2 separate regions of the Homo sapiens genome follow, and region 2 is linked to region 1. The links are contacts of gene promoters, found by promoter capture Hi-C in blood cells and fetal thymus (Javierre and others, 2016). All regions are on one chromosome and are shown on one strand. The core of a region is centred on a gene start or on the middle of the fragment in contact, and the rest is flanking DNA. Distances in the headings are between cores, read along the strand shown. Region 1 holds the start of SLC7A14 (solute carrier family 7 member 14). Region 2 overlaps LOC105374211 (a long non-coding RNA gene).

Region 1 (5,365 bases), core at 1,690-4,189:
GGTAACCAATTTTGGGAAAATTATTTTTTGGGGAATAGGTCATAGAAGAGGAGATATAGACAAGATAGGGCAAGTAAAGAAATGACACACTACCATTCCCATTTGTGAATTGCTGCTTCAGAGAAAACTGTTACTGAGGAAGGTGGGTCATATCTCCCAGGTATGTTGGGTTAGACAACACTGGAATAGTAGGACCAGAGGGGAAAGAGCTGGAAGACAAAGGAGTTGGAAGAAAGGTAAGAGGAATGCTTGTATGTTAAGTGTTTGTATTTTTGGCATGTTGTTTAATTTAGTTCACTGATGCTGACGTTTAGTCAAAGATAATCAAAGAAAGCAGTATGGAAGAGTATTTCAGACACCATGAAATAGTGGGAAAGGCCCTGGGCCTGGAATCAAGTTAACTGGGTTCTAATTTTTCAATCATGTGACTTAGACTAATGACCATCTTTTGGTTTCCAAGTTTTCTTTCTTGTAAAACGATGGTGCTAAATGATATTCAAAGCTATTCTAGTTCTAAAATTCAACAGTATAATTCTAAATATGAAAGTACATGTGGACTCTAGTTCTCCAGACTTCCTGAAGCCCTGCTACTCTTTTAGAAAAGGCTGCTGGTTTAGTTCTCTAACTTGTTTCCATAATATTGGAGCTGAAGTTGTGTGAACAGTGGTATCTCAAGCAGCATGCAAAAGCAGTTGGGAGGGTGGGAGTGCATGACAGTGAGTGGGTGAACGGATTAAAGAGAAAAGGGTTGGAAGAGAGGAGAGTGTGTGAAAGAGAAGAGCAGGCCTCCCTCCTTTGTCATTCTCCTGCTATAATCTCCAATAACAGCTATTCAGAGCCAAATACCAAAATGAAGGCATGAAAATGGCTTGGACTTTGAGTTAAATAGATCTGATTTTGAATCCAATCTCTGGAATCAAGTTTCTGTTTCCTTCTCTGTGTGATACTTTTGGTTGGCAGCTATTGTGAAGTTTAAATGAAATATTATTACCCAGCAGATAGAGGTGTTCAGTACAAATAGGCCTCCCCAAATTGGCTCAATCCTTTCCCCATCTTGCCCATAATATAAAAGACTAGCTAAAGAAACAAACATACAGGGCTGCTTAGCGATCTTTATCTAGAGCATGTAAATAACATGCAGTGGGGAAAGAAGGGTTCTAAGAAGAGGAAAAAGCTACAACCATGAAGCCCCTCCTTTGTGTAGCCTAACAATTCTCTGATTCCTGAAAGCCACAGAAATGTTTATTATCAAAACAGCATCCCTAACTGCCTTTCAACACTTTACCGACAGGAAGTCTCACTGCTCAGGTATAGGAAGTAGAACGAGGAAGCTCCCGAAGTTAGCAAAACTGGATCCTGAAGTGACACCCGCTTCCTGCTCTTCCACTCAGGAAAGCCGGGAACCTTTTCCCAAGCGGAGTCCTGGGGAAGCAGAAAACCGGGAAAGGCAAAGCCCCTTCTTCTCCTGTTTCTCTAGGTCGCTTGCTTAGAACCCTTTAGGGTTCTAACGCAGTTTCTGCTCGCAGGGAATGTGGGCCCTGGCGGTATTAGCACCCAGCCTCTGAGAACTTTCAGCACCGCGGACAGCGCCATTCCCTGCACTCAGTCGGAGGAGGAGAGCTACCTTGCCCCCAGCGCTCTCCTAGACCCTATACCTAGGGGGAGGCAGGGTGACATCCTGCGGCCCTTGGGCAATTCGGGCCAGTGACGTTCACCGACACTCAGGCGGGGATCCCTTCGCCAGAGCCAGTTCCTTTGAGTGTCTCCGCTCAAAATCTCAAGGAAACGAGCTTCACACAGGTGGGGGGATGAGGAGTGCCAGAACAGGAGCGAGCCCCGCTGCTCTAGCCTTCCTGCATCTCTTCTCGCCTTTGCTTTGCTCACTCTTCAATCGCAATATAAAATACTCATTTGGGGAGGGGGCAGGGTGACACAGGAGAGAGAAGGAGGGTGGGGGCTGCATCCCGCGTGGCCACGCAGCCCTAACCTGGCCCTCTTGGATTAGAGGGGAGCTGATGTGCTTTGGAATGGGAGAAGAGAGGAGACTGAGGGTTGAAGCAGTGCAGGAGAGCTCCCCTTGCTGGGGCTGCCGGCTCTGGGCAGGGAGCTTCCCTGGACACCGCTCCCGTCACGTCCTCTTCGCCGCTCCCGGGAGAGTCACCACTCTCCGGGGACAGACGCCCCTCGGGGCGCCACCATCCTGGTCGGGGTGCTGGGCTCGGCGGGAGTCCCTTTGAGGAGTTTGCTCCCAGGTAAAAGGGCAGACGTTGCTCCCGACCTCCCCGGAGTCTGCGGCCGGAAAAGCGTCTCCGTTTCATGGTCTCGGTCCGAGGCGGAGAACGGAGCTGCCCGTGCGGGGTGCGCGCCAAGGCGGGGGACAGGACGGGCCCGGCGTCTGCCGAGACCTAGGCTGCCCGCATTCCGCTCGCGGCTCCCCTTCTGCCTCCCGCTCTAGCGGCGCCGGAGCCGCGCTGGCCCCCGCCCCGCCCGGCAGCTCCCGCGAGTCAGAGCCCGGTGCCCCCAGACCGCGGGCAGTCGGGGCCTCATTCCGGGCCAGAGCAGGAAAGAGCCCGACCCACCTCCTCGGTTCTTCCAGGGAACCCCTTCTCGGAGGGCGCCCTGGGCCTCCGCGCCATATTCCTGGTCCCCCGCTCCCGGTGACTCCGGCTCCCTGGGTCATTCCGGGAGAGGCGGCCATCCCAGTTGCAGGGGTCCCGCTGGGGCGCGGGGGGCGCGGAGGGGGACAAACGGCAGCGAAGGGGGCCGTTCACTTACCGGGGTCGGGGCTGGAGGCGACGAGCTGGCTGCCAAGGCTGGTGGCTGGCAGTCCGCACTTACTGCGCGGAGCTGTCTCTCTAGCTGGGATGGGAAGTGGTGGTGGCGGCAAAGGAAGGCAGGAGGCAGCCGCTGCTGCTGAACAGCTCCTCAATTATTCAGATTGGGCCCCCACCCCCCGAACCCCTCCCCGTGCCTGCTCGTCCTCCCTCCAGCTCGCCTGTCTCCGCCTCCTTGGAGTCACATGGCCTGCCCAACCCCTTACATACTGGGCCCAAGCCTGGCACCAGACCACCTCCCACCTGGCCCCCCTGCCTTCCCCTCTGTCTGCCGCTCACAACTCCTCGCTGGCCTTCTGAGCCTCCAGTTGTGACCTCCAGTGTCTTATGTCAGGCTGCAGGGAGGTTGAGGGGGCCGTGGATGGGGGCAGTTCTTTGCCCTGGGAAAGCAGGGACCAGCAGGACTCTGCAATGTCTGTGCGTTGGGAAGGCATCTGCCGCAGCTCTGCCCCTGCTAGACTGGGCTGTCCAGACCTCCTTCCTGCCCTCTGGAAGCTTCCCTCATCCTCTGCGGAGCCTTCGTTGCTCTTAAACTTCCACATCCCTGAGCCCTACAGGAAAGAAAAAATGAGAGAGGTTGATTTCTCCTCTCCTCCTAAAGAAGACAAGACCCACCTCTGTCTTCAAAGCTTAAGTTTATCGTTGGGTTCACAACATCTTATGGGTGCAAAGATCATGGACTTGAGATTTGAAGAGCCATTAGGATTCCAATCTGTATGACCTTGGAGCATTTAACTTTCTAGCTTTTCTTCTCTCGTCTGTGAAATAACCACCTTGCAGTATTGTCATGAGATTGAGAAATCATCATGTTCTTAGAATTGCCTAGCCTAGAGTTGGACAGGTATTTGGAGCTCAATAAAGGAGAGTTCTTTTTCCCCCACCTTTGTTAAAATAAATTTCACAAGGCAAGAAGGATGTGATGTGTGCTAATACAGTGAAAGCATCTTTTAAACATGGAAGGAGGCATCTGTGAGGTCAGGCTAGACAAGTACCAGTCTAAACGGAGACAAGAGTGAGATAAGGTTTCTGTTTTGTATTAGCTCCTTTAAGATGAGTGTCCTAGAGCCAGGTTATGTCCCAAAAGGATTGGGACTAGATGGGACCAACCCAGGCATGCTTGGCCACATCACCGAATGAATTATTTAACAAGCATTGAGTAGACTGATTTGGATGAAAGTTATCTACATAAATTCTTGCACTTTGGCCCAAGCCCTCAAAACACATGGGAGGCAACAAAATGTAACTCTCCTATCCTTGGAAATGAATTCACTGGGCTTGTGTTTGGGGAGAATACTGGCTGACTGATACTCCTCTAGGGTGGAGCAGTTCAAATCTAGCTCTACTTTGTGGGTCTGCCCTGGGCTCTTCCCAGAAAGTTGCTTGATCATTGCCAGGACAGTCTTGGTTAGTCCACCTACCTCAAGCTTGTTACTGCCTTCGATGAGCATCTAAGCCTGACAATATCCCCATATTTTAAGCTTTGAGTAGTTCTGCAGGATATGTTAGACCTCCTGGGATCACCAAGAAGCTGTGAGACATTGTAGGAAAAGTGCAAAGTTAAAAAATCAGAAATTTGGAATCTCAGTGCAGGTTCTGCCAGCTACTTATCATATGATTTTTCACAAATCACTTAAATTGTCAGACTCTCATCTTCAGAATGGGAAAGGAATGTCTACCTGCCTTCTATATAAGATGGTTGTGATGTTTAGATGGGATAGCACATGAGAAGTCACTGTAAAAGGTAAAGAGTATGAATACTATGGGCTGAAGAAAACCCTGAGTCTATTCTAGTCCAAATGAATTATGAGGGTGATAAGATGGGAAGATGGGATTTGTCATGGAATATGCAGCTACTAAAATGTTGGTGTGTTGCTCTAAGTCTGCATGTATGCCTGTAGCTCAGGGGATGTGATTATTGGAGAACTGCATTCTTTGTTTCACCTTTTTCTGGATAAATTTCTGATTTAAATCTCCATATTTCCCTGGCCTTTTATTTCTGGAACACCAGCCACAATCACAATAGTTATGAATATTTACTATCTGAGAAAAGTTTGTGCCTATATTTCAAGACAGCAGGGTTTAGACTTTTCTGCCTTTGCTAGGTAAAATTGACTTGGGTTGGTAATTCAAAATGGCTTCGATTTCAAAGAAAAAAAATTTGGATTCTAGGAACAAACTCTAGACATTCATCAGCAGCTTGAATGATGATATGTGTTTCTAGTCCACTGCCAATAAACTCAATGAAATCCTCACACAAACCAGGAACTCCTGGAACCCTCCAACCTTAAGCAGATTCCAATCCTATCTCCTGGTGTACTTCCCCTTAATATTCTTTGGAAATTGCTAATCTGGACCTCTTTGTATTTAGGGAGACTAAAAGACCAGAAAGTGTCAACCATGCTTCTATATATACCACTGAAAAAATTGTCTGGGCTAGGTAAAATGCTGCTTCTGACTCCTGCCTACCTCTCCACTGACATCAAGAAACATGAGAAAGGGAAAAATAAGCATGAAATCATTTAATTTGGCCA
Region 2 (5,365 bases), core at 1,876-4,375, 250 kb after region 1:
TCCTAAAGACTCAATGTTTTAGAGTAGTTTTAGGTTCATAGCAAAATTGAGAGGAAGGTACAGAGATTTCCTATATACCCATTGCCCCTACAAATGCATAGCCTCTCCCATTATCAACATCCCCCACCAGAGTGGTACATTTGTTACAATGGATGAACCTACATGAACAGATCATTATCACCCAAAGTCCATACATTACATTAAGGGCTCACTCTTGCTATTGTACATTCTATTGGTTTGGACAAATGTCTAATGACATGTATCCACCATTGTAGTATTATATAGAATAGTTTCACTGCTCTGAAATTCCTCTGTGCTCTGCCTACTTATCCCTCTCTCCCCTTTACCCTTAGCAACCACTGATCCTTTTACTGTCTCCATAGTTTGTCTTTTCTAGAATTTCCTATAGTCGTAACTATACAGACTGTAGCCGTTTCAGATTGGCTTCTTTCACTTAGTAATATGCACTTAAGTTTTCTCCAAGTCTTTTTATGGCTTAACATTAGGTTGGTGCAAAAGTAATTGTGGGTTTTGCCATTAACCATATAAATAATGTCAAACATCGCGATTACTTTTGCACCAACCTGATAGCTCATTTGAATGGAATGATATTCCACTGTCTGCATCTACTGCAGTTTATTTGTCCATTCACCTGCTGAAGGGCATCTTGGTTACTTCCAAAGTTTAGCAATTATGAAAAAAACTGCTATAAACATTCATATGCAGGTTTCTGTCTAGACATAAGTTTTTAACTCCTTTAGGTAAATACCAGGGAGCATGATTGCTAGATTGTATGGTAAGAGTACACTTAGTTTTGTAAAAATTTGGCAAATTGTCTTCCAAAGTGGCTGTACCATTTTGCATTGCCATCAGCAATAAATGAGAGTTTTTATTGCTCCACATCCTCACCAGCATTTGGTGTTCTGGATTTTGGCCATTCTCATAGATGTGTTATGTTCAGCAGTCTGTTTTAACAAACCCTCAAGGTGATTCTGGTGCACTAAACATTGAAAACCATGACTGTGGACAGATCTTCTCTCATAGAAGTAGCCCTCCCAGCTGGTCCTGATTCAATCTGCTGACCTTGTAATGAAACAGAATAAAGAGGAGGACAATGGGGAGGAAAGCAGTGTTTATTGAGCGACCACAACATGCCAGGCACTGTATCATTATAATTTCATTTTATTCTTCCATAGAAGCTAAGAAATTTTTACTCTTGTCCCCATTTTAAAGATTTTTTGAAATGAGATTCCAAGCCATAGTAATGTTTAAGCTTACAGACCTACTAAGTAGTGAGTTCACATTAGGGAATTTGAAAAGTACAAAAGTTATAAAGAAGAATATAGGAATTACCCACAACCCCATTCAAAACAACATTATTATTTAGTGTAAGTCCTCACAGTATTTTTTTTTTCCTGTGTAAAACTCCTTTGGATTTCAGGCTGCTCTGTGGTCTCTCATAGAATTTAGGCTCCAGAGTGGGTCCTTTGCTCTGAGATCTGAAGACCTAGGAACTAATGCCTCCACCTTCAGCTTTGTTCTAATCTCTCCTAAAAGCAAGTATCTAGATCCTTTTATTCTCCCTACATCCCTACATTTGATAATATACAGAAGCAAGAGCTTAGTAAATCAAACAAGTGAGCTGAAGTAGGTGCTGAAAGTTGACCTAAAACAAACTGGGAGCTAAGACTCTACTCCAAGACAGAACAGAAATGGACTTGGAGCCAGATATAGAACAAGTTATTTATGCTCAGTTCTCTAGGAAAAGGATGGAGGCTTGTTCTGAGATGTGTGCATCTTGTGCTGGGGGCTGGAGGGAGCTGCTGTTCCTGGAACACTCTGCAAGTGTCTGTTCTGGGAGGGGCATCATGGTCGCTGCATCCCAAGCCAGGCATATTGTGCATCAGAGTCAACGAATGGAAGTCATCAGAATTCTGGATGACACTCTGTGATGCTTGGATGGTTCTCTACTTAACCCCCTGTGGAGGCTGCTGTGTATCTGTTTCATGCCAGACTCGGAGAAAATAGTAAAGATAAAAGACAGAAGGCTTATAGCTGTTTTCATAAAGTGTTTGTTTTCCTTGCTGTTAAGACCACTTGTCCAAGTGAATCATTTGGGGTTATATTTTACTAAAGCACCTCAAAAAAAGCCAAAATATTTTTAGAATCTATAGCTGTGGGTGATCCAAACATAATGAGCTTCCTCCTTCTGAAAAAAAAAAAAAAAAAAAAAAAAAACAGAAAGAAAAGAAAAAAGGAAAGCCTAGGTTTTTTTTCCTCCAACCCTGCCTCTGAGTTTGAAACCTACAAGCAATTGCTGCCCCTCCCTCCCAAACCCTTAGTTTTTACCCAACATAAAATGAAAATGAAGATAACATGGAAGGATTTCATGACAGAGATGTGTCATATTCAGGCTGTGGATAATTGAAATTTACGATTAACAATTTTGTCAGAAGAATGCCTTTTAGTCCCCGGGGTCCTTTATTGTGTATGCTAATAGGACAATTTAGGATAAAGACAGGGAGTGGGTTATAAAGAGAAAAGCTTCATTATGTAAGTTAAGGAGTAATACAACGCATTCACTAATGAGAAGTTTTAACATATTTTACTTATCTACATTTGAACAGACAATACATTCATATAGTTCAAAACTCAGGCTGGGTGCATTGGCTCACGCCTGTAATCGCAGCAGTTTAGGAGGCCAAGGCAGGTGGATCACCTGAGGTCAGGGGTTTGAGACCAGCCTGGTCAACATGATGAAACCCCATCTCTACTTAAGAAAAAAAAAAAAAATTAGCCAGGCATGGTGGTGCGCACCTGTCATCCCAGATATTCGGGAGGCTGGGGCAGGAGAATCGCTTGAACCTGGGAGGTGGAGGTTGCAGTGAGTCGAGATCACACCACTGCACTCCAGCCTGGCGACAGAGGGAGACTCTGTCTTAAAAAAAAAAAAAAAAAAAAAAAATCAAACTGTATGAAAGGATAGGGAATGAAAAGAACCCTTTCACATCCTTGTTCTTCACCCCCAGCTTTCCTGAGGCCATGAGAGCTACCAGAGTGTTTGGTATGCTGTCAGATGTGTGCTATGGATAAACCAGCAACACACACATATTCTTATACTCTGTTTTTTAATGCAAATGGCAACATTCACTACACTTTGTTCTATGCCTTGTTTCTACACCTGAGGATGTCTCTTAAATGTTTTTGTTTCAATGTATAAAGAACTTCCACGTACATGAGCCCTACCTTAGAATCATCCCCCATAGTAGAGGTTTCTCTTTTTTTTTTTTTTTTTTTTTTTTTTTTTTGAGACGGAGTCTCGCTCTCGCCCAGGCTGGAGTGCAGTGGCGCGATCTCGGCTCTCTGCAAGCTCCGCCTCCCAGGTTCACGCCATTCTCCTGCCTCAGCCTCCCGAGTAGCTGGGGCTACAGGCACCTGCTACCACGCCTGGCTAATTTTTTTGTATTTTTAGTAGAGACGGGGTTTCACCATGTTAGCCAGGATGGTCTCGATCTCCTGACCTCGTGATCCGCCCGCCTTGGCCTCCCAAAGTGCTGGGATTACAGGCGTGAGCCACCGCGCCCGGCCGGTTTCTCTTCTTTTATTGTTTTCTGCCTCTGCTTTCATTGTAAGCCTTCTTTAGTATTCATCTTTTATTTCATCCGGCTTAAAGGAAGAAGACCAGATCTTTGTGCAGTAGGGACCCTAAGCTTTGAAGAACTCTAGTGATAGCAGGTCAGAAGAAAATTCCTGAGATTGGGAGCTTGCACCTTTCTGAAGAAACAGACATGCAACAGGATGTAAGGAGAAAGGAGTAGAGACGAGACAGGAAATGGAATCAAGAAGAAAGACAAAGGCAGTGGGAAAGAACCAGGCATTTGCAATAATATAGATAATTTGGGTGACTGAACTAGTAAAAACCTGTTTTTCTGTGTGAGAAGTCTGTGTTAAATGTATAGAGGCAGCTAATATATTAGAGCAGTAGAGAGGAATTATGCTGATGTACAGACTGAAATGTACATGATTAGCTCTAGAGATTAATATAGTCTCTATAGATGTGACTGTACGTTGATGCAGTTCTAATGGCTGATTTGGAAAATAAAATCAAAATGATTAAAAATGTACCTGAGGCCAGATGCAGTGGCTTACACCTGCAATCCCAGCATTTTGGGAGGCTGAAGTGGGAGGATCGTTGAGGCCAGGAGTTCAAGACCAGCCTGGGCTACATAGTGAGACCTCATCTCTACCAAAAAAAAAAAAAAAAAAAAAACCCACAAAAAACACCCACAGTATAAAATTGCCCATAAACTGCAATTATTTTAAGGAAACAATAATGAACAAAGTTGTCACATCATTTACAAAAGCAAAAATTTAGAAACATCTAAATATCCAATGTAGTGGGTTAATGTAGTAAATTATTGTGTATCCATAAACTGAAATACTATCAGCTATAAAATATGTGTTTACAGGTATGGGAGAATGTTCTCCATACATTTCTAAATTAAAAGAATAATTATACAGCTAAAAGGCTACTCTGTATATCTATTTTATTGATTTAATTTCTTTTCTTTTTTTTTTTTTAATTTTTACAAACAGGGTCTCACTGTGTTGCCCAGGCTGGAGTGTAGTGGCATGATTATCACTCACTGTAACCTTGAACTCCTGGGCTCAAGTGATCCTCCCACCTCAGCCTCCCAAGTAGCTAGGACTACAGGAGTGCACCACCACGCCCACACCTAGCTATTTTTTTTTTTTTTTGTAGTGATGGGGGTCTTTCTATGTTGCCCAGGCTGATCTTGAACTCTTAGCCTCAAGCAATCCTCCTGGGATTATAGGCGTGAGTCACCATGCCCTGTCTATATATTTATTTTAGTATATTAATAATAGCAAATGTTTATTGAGATTCACCATTTACCAGAAGCTCTTTGTGGTGTTTTAAACTCATTAAAACTTACAATCCATAAATTAGGAGCTACAATAATTTCCAATTTGCCCACAAGAAAACTAAGGCACAGAGCAGTTGAGCAACTTGAGTAATAGTTGGCACGTGGAAGGGCTGCATCTTTGACCCTGCTTTTCTAGCTATAGAGCCAGGTCCACATGTGATAATGCCTACCTGTGTAGTGAAAAACCTAGGTAACAAAATAGAATTCGGTTTTTGAACAGTGACCAATGCGGGGGATAATGTATCTCTGCATGGGAAGAAGTTATCCTCAGTGGGGGACTGAGGAGGTGGGTGTGAGGGGATTTTGCCTGTGTTGCAATGGTTTATTTCTGATAAGCCTAATATGGATAACTAAAATCAAGGGTAAAAAACTAAATTTAAGGAGACCTGGAAAGGACCAAAATGAATCAACTTAGTATC

Evidence for each region. Contacts are between HindIII fragments. The CHiCAGO score rates a contact against its expected background, and 5 or more counts as called.
Region 2: a fragment that was not itself captured here is called in contact with the fragment with the promoter of SLC7A14 in region 1 in 1 of 17 cell types (endothelial precursors); the score reaches 5.5 in endothelial precursors.

What each region holds. Positions count from the first base shown.
Region 1 is chr3:170,583,136-170,588,500 of GRCh38, forward strand. It overlaps SLC7A14 (solute carrier family 7 member 14), which reads right to left and starts at 2,940. Exons shown (of 8, transcript NM_020949.3): 1 at 2,776-2,940. The region is part of intron 2 of SLC7A14-AS1 (SLC7A14 antisense RNA 1); the gene reads left to right. RefSeq lists a silencer at 1,425-1,719. The HindIII fragment of the contact is 6,611 bases long and covers 1-3,327 here.
Region 2 is chr3:170,833,640-170,839,004 of GRCh38, forward strand. It overlaps LOC105374211 (a long non-coding RNA gene), which reads left to right. Exons shown (of 3, transcript XR_924701.2): 3 at 3,674-3,984. Among named protein-coding and RNA genes, the nearest start is that of RPL22L1, 34 kb to the right of the region's middle. RefSeq lists an enhancer at 1,664-2,227. The HindIII fragment of the contact is 1,166 bases long and covers 2,543-3,708 here.